3 separate regions of the Homo sapiens genome follow, and regions 1 and 3 are each linked to region 2. The links are contacts of gene promoters, found by promoter capture Hi-C in blood cells and fetal thymus (Javierre and others, 2016). All regions are on one chromosome and are shown on one strand. The core of a region is centred on a gene start or on the middle of the fragment in contact, and the rest is flanking DNA. Distances in the headings are between cores, read along the strand shown.

What was found. The method cuts DNA at HindIII sites, captures the fragments that hold promoters and counts their contacts. A CHiCAGO score of 5 or more calls a contact.
Region 1: a contact is called between a fragment that was not itself captured here and the fragment with the promoter of MAGI1 in region 2, in 1 of 17 cell types (endothelial precursors). The highest score is 5.1, in endothelial precursors.
Region 3: a contact is called between a fragment that was not itself captured here and the fragment with the promoter of MAGI1 in region 2, in 1 of 17 cell types (endothelial precursors). The highest score is 8.7, in endothelial precursors.

Annotation. Positions count from the first base shown.
Region 1 is chr3:65,915,065-65,918,112 of GRCh38, reverse strand. All of the region lies in intron 1 of MAGI1 (membrane associated guanylate kinase, WW and PDZ domain containing 1), which reads left to right. The region is part of intron 1 of MAGI1-IT1 (MAGI1 intronic transcript 1); the gene reads left to right. The region is part of intron 2 of MAGI1-AS1 (MAGI1 antisense RNA 1); the gene reads right to left. Among named protein-coding and RNA genes, the nearest start is that of MAGI1-AS1, 23 kb to the right of the region's middle. RefSeq lists a silencer at 2,265-2,559. The HindIII fragment of the contact is 1,187 bases long and covers 1,048-2,234 here.
Region 2 is chr3:66,037,624-66,040,823 of GRCh38, reverse strand. MAGI1 (membrane associated guanylate kinase, WW and PDZ domain containing 1) reads left to right here and starts at 1,906. Exons shown (of 23, transcript NM_001033057.2): 1 at 1,906-2,828. The coding sequence starts at 2,516. LOC105377128 (a long non-coding RNA gene) reads right to left here and starts at 1,871. Exons shown (of 2, transcript XR_001740440.2): 1 at 1,626-1,871; 2 at 530-772. RefSeq lists a silencer at 1,819-1,938 and an enhancer at 2,891-3,200. The HindIII fragment of the contact is 5,984 bases long and covers 662-3,200 here.
Region 3 is chr3:66,137,500-66,140,564 of GRCh38, reverse strand. It overlaps a transcript of SLC25A26 not described here. Among named protein-coding and RNA genes, the nearest start is that of SLC25A26, 82 kb to the left of the region's middle. The HindIII fragment of the contact is 548 bases long and covers 1,229-1,776 here.

The DNA.
Region 1 (3,048 bases), core at 392-2,891, 120 kb after region 2:
TTTAAAAACAATAGACTTCGTTAGAGCATTTTTAGATTCACAATAAAATTGAGAGGAAGGTACAAAGATTTCCTATGTACCCTCTGCTTCCAGCCTGTGCACAGCCTCCCCCATTATCAACGTCCCCCACCAAGGTGGTACATTTGTTACAATTGATGAACCTACATTGACACATCATTATCACCCAAAGACCTTAGTTTACATTAGGGTTCATTCTTGGTGTTGTACATTTTATAGGGTTGAACAAATATGTAATGACACGTGTCCACCATTATAATATACAGACTAGTTTCACCGCCTAAAAATTCTTGGTGCTCTACTTATTTATCTCCCCACTCCCCTAACTTTTGATCTTTTTACTGTCTCCATCGTTTTGCCTTTTCCAGAATGTCAGATAATTGGAATCATATAGTATGTAGCCGTTTCACATTGGCTTCTTTCACTTAGCACTATGCATTTGTAAGTTTCCTCCATGTGTTTTCATGGCTTGATGGTGTGTTTCTTTTTAGTGTTGAATCATATTGCCTTGTCTAGATGTACCATAGTTCTTTTATCCATTCATTTACTGAAGGATGACTTGGTAATTGCACATAAAGCTTTTATAAACTTTCATGTGCAGGTTTTTGTGTGGACATAAGTTTTCAACTCCTTTGCTGAATACCAAGGAACATGATTGCTAGCTAGATTGTGTGGTAAGATTATGTTTAGTTTTATAAGAAACTGCCAAACTGTCTTCCAAAGTGGCAATATAATTTTGCATTCCCACCAGCAGTGAGTGAGAGTTCCTGTTGCTCCATATCCTTGTCAGCATTTGGTGGTGTCAGTGTTTAGGATTTTGGCTTTGCTAATAGGTGTGTAGTGGTATCTCATTGTTGGTTTTATTTTTCAATTTCAAAAGTGCTACTAGTGATGTAGAAGGATAGAGGAGAAAGGAAACCCTGTAGCCCCATGTAACTCCTCATCCTTTAGAGTTAATGGTATAATATGTATCTTTCTAGATGTTTCTCTCTTTATGTGTAAGAAGGTGGAAATGTCTAAGGATAAGCTTAAGAAATAAAAACAGATTATTTCAATTACCTTTGACATTATAAATTTAAAATATAAGAAAACACCTGGCAGTCCAGACAAATTTTTAAAGAAGTCAAAGTTAACTTTTTTGGACCATTAATATATTACGTGTATGATTATCCAAGATTTTAAAAAGTATACAATGAGAACAGTAGAACTTATCCCTGACAACTGTCTTCTCCTATCCTCATTATTTCATTATTTGGTTTCTCTGGAGGTAGTGGCAGGGTGTGTGTGTGTGTATGTGTGTGTGTGTGTGTTAGTGTGTGTATGATACATGTACTTAAGTAAGAAATTCATGTATATAGGCCAGGTGCAGTAGCTCACATCTGTAATCTCAGCACTGTGGGAGGCGATTGTGGTTTGGCTGTGTCCCCACCCAAATCTCATTTTTAATTGTAGCTCCCATAATTCCCATGTGTTGTGGGAGGGAGCTGGTGGGAGATAATTGAATCATGGAGTGGTTTTTCCCATTCTGTTCTTGTGGTAGTGAAAAAGTCTCACAATATCTGATGGTTTTATAAGGGGTTTCCTCTTTCACTTGGCTCTTATTTTCTCTCTTGTGTGCCACCACGTAAGGTGTGCCTTTCGCCTTCTGCCATGATTGTGAGGCCTCCCCAGCCACATGGAACTGTGAGTCCATTAAACCTCTTTTTCTTTATAAATTATCCAGTCTTGGGTATGTCTTTATCAAGCAGCATGAGAACAGACTAATACAATGGCTGAGACGGGAAGATCACTTGAGGCCAGAAATTTGAGATCAGCCTAGCTATCATGGCGAAACCCCGTCTCTACTAAAAATACAAAAAAACTGGTTGGGTGTGGTGGCATGTGCCTGCAATCCCAGCTTCTTGGGAGGTTTAGGCATGAGAATCGCGTCAACCCGGGAGGCAAAGGTTGCAGTGAGCTGAAAATGTGCCACTGCGCTCCAGCCTGAGCAACAGAGCAAGACTCTGTCTCAAAAAAAAGAAAAGAAAGAAATAGATGAATATATATATATAATATACTGTGTATTGAATATTATAAATTATATGTATATAAATATATACATATTATATATATTCACATTTTATATATGTATCATATAAATGTATATGTATTTCTTACACAGAAATGATAATAAATACACAAATTTGCATCTTGCTTTTTCAACATAAATCAAAGCTTGATTCACTAAGTTGAGTCCTTTTTTCAGGGTTATTTATTTTTAGAAATAAGGAAGCACAAATGAACTGCTTTGTCCATAGAGAGGAAAGCCAGGAAGTATAAAATGCCATTAGTTACCTGATAGTCATCATTTTACCAAGCAAAGAGAAGGCAGTTTTCAGGAAAGCATATGGAATATGGCTCTTGATGGAACTACGTGCCACTTGAAGGATACACTGGATAACCCAGAGGGATGATTCACAACCAGTGCAGCTGTAAACTTTTCTTTTAATTAGGTAGGAAGCACCTGTGTGTTATTCATCGTTTTTCCTCTTCCCAGTCCAGTCTCTTCAGGGATTTTAAAAAAAGAAAAAGACCCAAACAATTTGGAATTTAAATTTTCTGTAGGAGAAAGCAGCCAGTGTCTAAAAAGGGGCAAGTGTGCAGATCATCTGCTGGAAGACAAGGTGAGAAGAGTAACTTGAACGGGTGTGAATTTTAGAGGGCAAATGACTGTGCACATTGCAAGGTGTTTGGCATGGAGCGATGTGTTAGCATCCCGTTGGTGTTTGGATTTATGCTTCTGAATTGAGTATTTAAAAATATTTAACAGAATTAATGCTAAATATGTACAAGCTGCTGTTCAAATGTGAACAGTCCTAGCATTTGTATCTCCTGTGGGCTCTGAGCATTACCATGAGATGGCACCAGCATCCTTTCATGACCTCTGTGTGGCAAGAGGCTAAGTGAGACTGGTCATATGATTAGCAGTTTCTTGCAAGGGACTGATCAACATCATTTACCACACAATTTGCCTAAGAGATTGACTTTGTC
Region 2 (3,200 bases), core at 657-3,156:
AGAGAGAAGCATCAACATCCCTCCTTACTTTTATTAGCTTAGAATAGCACCCTACAATGCTTTAAAAGGATGTTTAAACGTATGCCTAAACCAGGTATGGTGGCTCACATCTATAACCCCAGCACTTTGGGAAGCTGAGTCAGGAGGTTGGCTTGAGCCCAGGAGTTTGAGACCAGCCTGGGCAATCAACATAGGGAGACCCCCCCATGTCTACAAAAAATCAAAAAAATAAAACTAGCTGGGCATGGTGGCATGTGCCTATAATTCCAGATACTCAGGAGGCTGAGGTGGTAGGATTGCTTGAGTCCAGAAGTTCGAGGTTACAATCAGCTAGTCGAGCTACTGCACTCCAGCTTGGGGACAAAGCAAGACCACGTTTCTAAAAACACCACCACCACCATCAAAAAACAAACACACAAAGTATGCCCATATTTTCTAAGTTCTAGAAAGGAGAGGATAAATTATCATACTTACTAACTTGAATCCCCAAATGATTTCCCAATTTTCTTCCCAAATAGTAATACTACTATTAAGAATATAATGAGTTTTTATTATTTGCCACTTTATAAGTGTTTTCCCACGTAATACTTCCAAGAACCCTGTGAGGTCTTGTTCTACTTATTTGATCAGCGAGAAACGGAGGCGCGGAGGTCACCAAGCTTGCTCAAGGTCACACAAGGGTGGACCCCTGAGCCTACCTCTCAACCTCGACTGCTGTGTCCATCCTTTCTTCATCGTTTCAACGTACCCCCCTCATTTCTTGGAATCTCTCCTGTGACCAAAGATGAACAAAATTATACATCACTAAAGAGGAAAACAAACTGCTGGGGAGACTACTCAGCAGCCTGATTTGAGGAGTATTTGGGAAGGGCAGCCTTCCTGTGGTATGGGAGTCTTTCTGTCCGCCACCTCGCCGGGACAGAAGTCACTCCATCCGCACCCCCGGGCGACCTCCGGAGGCCGCAGCTACCCCCGGGCTGCGAATTCCGAGTTCTCTCACGCCCCCGCGGGCGCCAGGACGCAGGGCATGTCCGCGCCCGGCGGGGATCCTTATCTCCTGGCCCCGGAGTAGGTCCGCAGGCTTCTCGGCCCTGCCAGGAACTTGAGGCCGGGGCAGATGATTGACTGGGTCCAGCAGTCTCTGCTGGCAGGGCAGTTGAAAAGCTAGAGGGATCTCTTTTTTGGTTGAATACCTGAACCCACACTAGCACCATGGCTTCTCTCTCTTGCCTGTAGTTTCCCGTGTCCTAAAAAGTTGGTCCCAAAGTTTAAGGATGCGGGTGTGTGTAAGAGCGCGTGTGACCCGCACAGGGATCCCAGTTGGGGAACCGGAGGATCCCACCGTCCCCCTCCCCCGGGTCGCAGAGACCCTGGCAGACCCCGCGCCAGGACCCGAACCCGCAAGCGCAGGGCAGGCAGGGAGGCGGCGAGCGCCCCGGGGCGGGTCTCGGGGGTTTCAGTGGGACCTGCGGCAAGGGGGGCGGCGAACCAGCCGGGCTGGGTGACCGACAGCCTGGCCAGCCACTGGCCGAGGGCGGTTAGGAGGCTTAGGGCCGGCGCGAGTGCGTGCGCGTGTGCGTGAGTGTGAGCGCCAGGGTGAGTGTGGCAGCCTCCCCAACCCCCACCTGTTTGAAATGGTTTTCAAATGCCAAAGCCAGATTGCCCGGGTTTCAAAAGTTGCAAACAGTTGGAGTAAAACACGTGTGCGGCCCTCCAGCCCCAAAGGAATCCGCGGAGTCCAGGGCACTGAAAGAAAAGGAGAGAGGATAGGGGTTCAGGAAGGGTTGGGGGGGAGTTGCCTTCTCCCGGCAGGTCGGTTTTAGGACCCATCGGGAAGCACGTTGGAATCTCTCCCTTCGGGGAGGAGGGGAGGGGTGGGCCGGCCGGCTGGCGGCCGCGGGGCGCATGCGCGCGCGTCTCCTGTCGCCGGCCGCTGCGCTCCGCGGCGCGGAATAGAATGAACTGTAACAAAACAAGCCGAGCCTTTGTATCTGCTTAAAGGGGCCGCGAGCACTTACCTCCCGCCCTGCTCCCCGCCGCCCCGCCACCGCGTCTTCAGGGCTCCCGGCAACTGGCTGGAAGGGCTTCCCTCACCCTCAGTAACAGCCTGCCAGCGAGGAGAGGCGAGCCGGGCGGGAGGCAAAGAGGAGGCACCGCATTTGTAAAAGGCAAGAGAGAAAGGAAGGAAGGAAAAAAAAATAACCCGAGCGGCGCAGAGTGGACTCTGGTCCGGGAGAGCACGGGCGGGCGCCGGAACGTGGACCCAGAGGCACCGGAATGCAAACAAAGCTCGCGGGCGCCTGTGCGGGGCTCGCGGGGAAGCCCAGAAAGTTTGTTTTATGATGGCTTGAGTGCGCGAGCGTGTGCAGGGGAGCGAGGCTGCCAAGTTTCTCTCTCCTGTTTTGTGATTTGGGGAGAGATGTTTCTCCCATGAACAAGCGGAGGCTTGGGGGCTCGTGCTGTGGGGGGCACCTGTCTCTCGTTTTATTTTTTTGGAGGAGGGGTGTAACTCATCATGTCCAAAGTGATCCAGAAGAAGAACCACTGGACTAGCAGGGTTCACGAATGCACCGTGAAGCGGGGACCCCAGGGCGAGCTGGGGGTGACGGTGCTGGGAGGCGCGGAGCACGGGGAGTTTCCGTACGTCGGAGCGGTGGCGGCGGTCGAGGCAGCGGGGCTTCCCGGCGGCGGCGAGGGCCCGAGGCTGGGCGAAGGGGAGCTGCTTCTGGAGGTGCAGGGGGTCCGGGTGTCCGGCTTGCCCCGCTATGACGTGCTGGGGGTCATCGACAGCTGCAAGGAGGCCGTCACCTTCAAGGCCGTCAGACAAGGTAAGGCAGGGCGCGCCTTTGGGGGGCGCCCCGAGAAAAGGAGGGTGGTCTGTGGGCTGCCCCTTATTCTCGATTTCCTGCTTCCCTCCTCGGAGCGCAGTGAAGAGAAGTTGAGGCCGTGCGCCCTGTGGTGGCGGTGAAATACACAAAGTTGTTGCGAGGTTGAGGGTTGTTTGCCCACCTGCGTTTCGAAGAGGGGGCTGGGTTTGCGCAAGGTAGCGGGGGGACGTTTCTCAGGCCTGGCTGGCCAACCTGTTATCTCCGCCACTAAGTGCAGCGCAGTCTCGCCTGCACCCGAGAGAGAGTTGGGGAACTGAGTCAGGGGCATGGTGGACGCTGTCCTGGCTCCTTGGGGGAGGGATGCAGCTGGCG
Region 3 (3,065 bases), core at 253-2,752, 100 kb before region 2:
CAGCGTGCATCCTGTATGTTAGTTGAATTCATTCGAAGGTTCTAGTGAATGATCCTTTCTGAAGTGCACTGGTTGAAGGATTAGAAATCCCATTTTGCCTACCTGGCTTCCACACCACCTTCCTGTGTTAGTAGCATGTGGATTTTTTCTTTGAGGAGCCACCCTCTCCTAGTCTAGCTGTCTTGGTGATGCTATCCACAAACTCCACCAACCCCTGCCCTAAACTCAGGGCTCACAGGATGAGCACATGACTCAACGGAATACACATTCCATTCTTCCACCTCTAATCATTGGTTCAGAAAAGGCGCATATCCAAAATTGGTCAAGAGATGTAATTCCTGATCTTTTGCTAGAATAACAAAGAACCTCTTTCCATTGTACTTGCAAGTGTTAATACATAGGCATGGAGCATCTGAACACCAGTAATGAGAGCATCCTGCAAATGAAGCCACCATGAAAGAGAACAGACCTGACAGCCATTCTGAGCACTAGAACCAGCCATACCTGAAGCTCTGATCTCTCAGTTCCATGAGCCAGTAAGTTAGTAAGTTAATTACCTTTCTTGATGTGCTTAAACGAATGAGGTTTTTGGGTTTTTTGTCACCTACAACACCTTGAGAAGGATCAATAGCAAATAACATCTATTAGGTTAAGCTTGGGGCCATAAATCCTTAAACTAATTTAGTGTTTATGCTCTCATCATTCAATAATTCCCTTATCTTTTCATCTAGTCTGCATTACTGCCTGCAATAATTTGCCTGACCCACGGCTTTAGCGCTTAGTGTGAAAGAAGTAACTCAAGTAGAGTAAACAAATGACACTGTGAGTACATTAATGCTTCTGACCCTATAATGTCATCTTTTAAATAGGTTATGCATGTGTAACACTGCAGCCGACCATCTGTACTGCTTATCTAAGTTCTGTAATGAAATGGCCAGGGCCCTGTTTATTTATGTGATACAGGCAGCCTCCCTCTAAATCTAATTCAATCTTCAGTCACTGTTTTGTAGGCTAGGAGCTCTAATGACCGCGAAAGAAATGTGTGCTGCTTCAGATGATGCTATTAAAAGAAACTTGTTCCCAAAGAAATTTTTATCTCCTGATAGGGGGGAGCTAAATCACTATAAATTATGGAAAAGGAAATTGCAAATGTATCTTGCTTTCTTTTTATTGGAGGCATTGTTTTCTCACAACTGTCAAGTAGAGCATACACCTATTTTGAAAAGCTTTTAACAACTTTGAATTAAGCAAAAATGGAGAAATAAGAGGCTGCAGAATTAGAGAAGCTAATGCAACCCTGCTTTGCAAAGCAAAGGCAGGGTTTCACCATTCCTTTTTTATTCACAAATGGCACTATCAAGGAGGTGGGCGGGGTGGCACAGAAGGTGAAACAGAGAAAAGCAACAGCAAAATACAGTAAAGAGAAGTGAGATCATCAGGAGAATCATAAGAATCTTGAAAGGAAAAGCTGAGAACTTTAGAATTTCATTCTCCTGGGGCAGAGGAAAAGAGGATGGGGAGGGGAGGAGGACAGGAGGGGTGGGGCAGCAATTTGAATTCGTTTCAACTGAATAAGTAATCAATCAATCTACTCCTGTTAGTGTGAACTTGGATCTTATAAAAAAGAATCTCAAAAAGAATGACTGTTTGTCTTTCCTGTTCATCACGGGGGATTTCAGTGGACTCAGGACCATTACTATTCACATTAATCACACAGTGGCTGTGCTCAGCAAAGCCAGCAGAGGGAGTACAAGATTAATGGGTGGCTTCCAAGCTTTGCCAAGGAACCGATGCCCGTATCCAGGACCTCCCAATACGGTTTGTGAAGAGGAACCTCTGGCTCTCTCCCATGCCTCCTTCCTTAACTGCTTCCCTTCATCTCCCTCTTCCCCTACCCCAATACATCCCTACCCCCCCTCCCCCTGCATCAATCCTCCCACCAAATTGTCTGATTTGTCATTTGGAAACATTTTACCAGAGAATTCACAGGTTGACATTCTGTTGGCCAACCCCATGACAGATGGGAAAGAAAGGCCCCAATGTAGGTCAAACAATAAAAATCATGCTGGATGGATTTTGAGTGCCAAGCAAAATCTAACCTTAGGAGAAAATAACAGGTTGCAAAATTGCATGTGTACTAGGATCTCAAGTGTATAATATTTTTAATTATAGAAAAAAAGAGAAATTTATCAAATTAAGAATGGTTGCCCTGGAGTGTGATGTGTCTGAAGGGGGGTGAGATTTGTGGGATGATTTTTTTCTTCCTTCATTGCATATTTCCATACTTCAGATGTATACATTGTATACGATGTATACATTGAACAGCTTTGATCACCATAGGAAAAATAAAACATTATAAATGCCCATGTTTATTTTACGTGTTCACATGCAATACTCTCTGTTTAATAATGCCATAGAAAATGTTCATGTGGGCCGATCATGGTGGCTCATGCCTGTAATCCCAGCACTTTGGGAGGCTGAGGCGGGTGGATCACTTGAGGTCAGGAGTTCGAGACCAACCTGGCCAACATAGTGAAACCCCGTCTCTACTAAAAATACAAAAATTAGCTGGGTGTGGTAATGCACGCCTGTAATCCCAGCTGCTCTGGAGGCTGAGGTGGGAGAATCGCTTGAACCTGGGAGGCAGAGGTGGCAGAGAGCCAAGATTGGGCTACTGCACTCCAGCCTGGGTGACAGAGCGACACTGTCTCAAAAAACAAAAAAAAGAAAAAAGAAAATGTTCATGTGACTATACTAACTAGCTTTGCAAAGGAAAGAAGAAAACAAGCTCTTATGGAGTCCTAGGTGCTAGGAACTGTATTAGGAGTTGGGGGATAACAAGATGAGTTAGACACACTCTGACCTCAGGAAGCTCACAGTCACACAGAGCATCTTATTCCCTTCTCACAATGACTCTATGAGTGTCTTAGGCCATTCCTGCTGGTCTCACAAAATACCACCAACTAGGTAATTCATAAACTATAGAATTTTTTTTCTCACAGTTCTGCAGGTTGGGATGTTCAAGATCATAGTGTGGGGCTGGGTGTGGTTGTTCATGCCTGTAA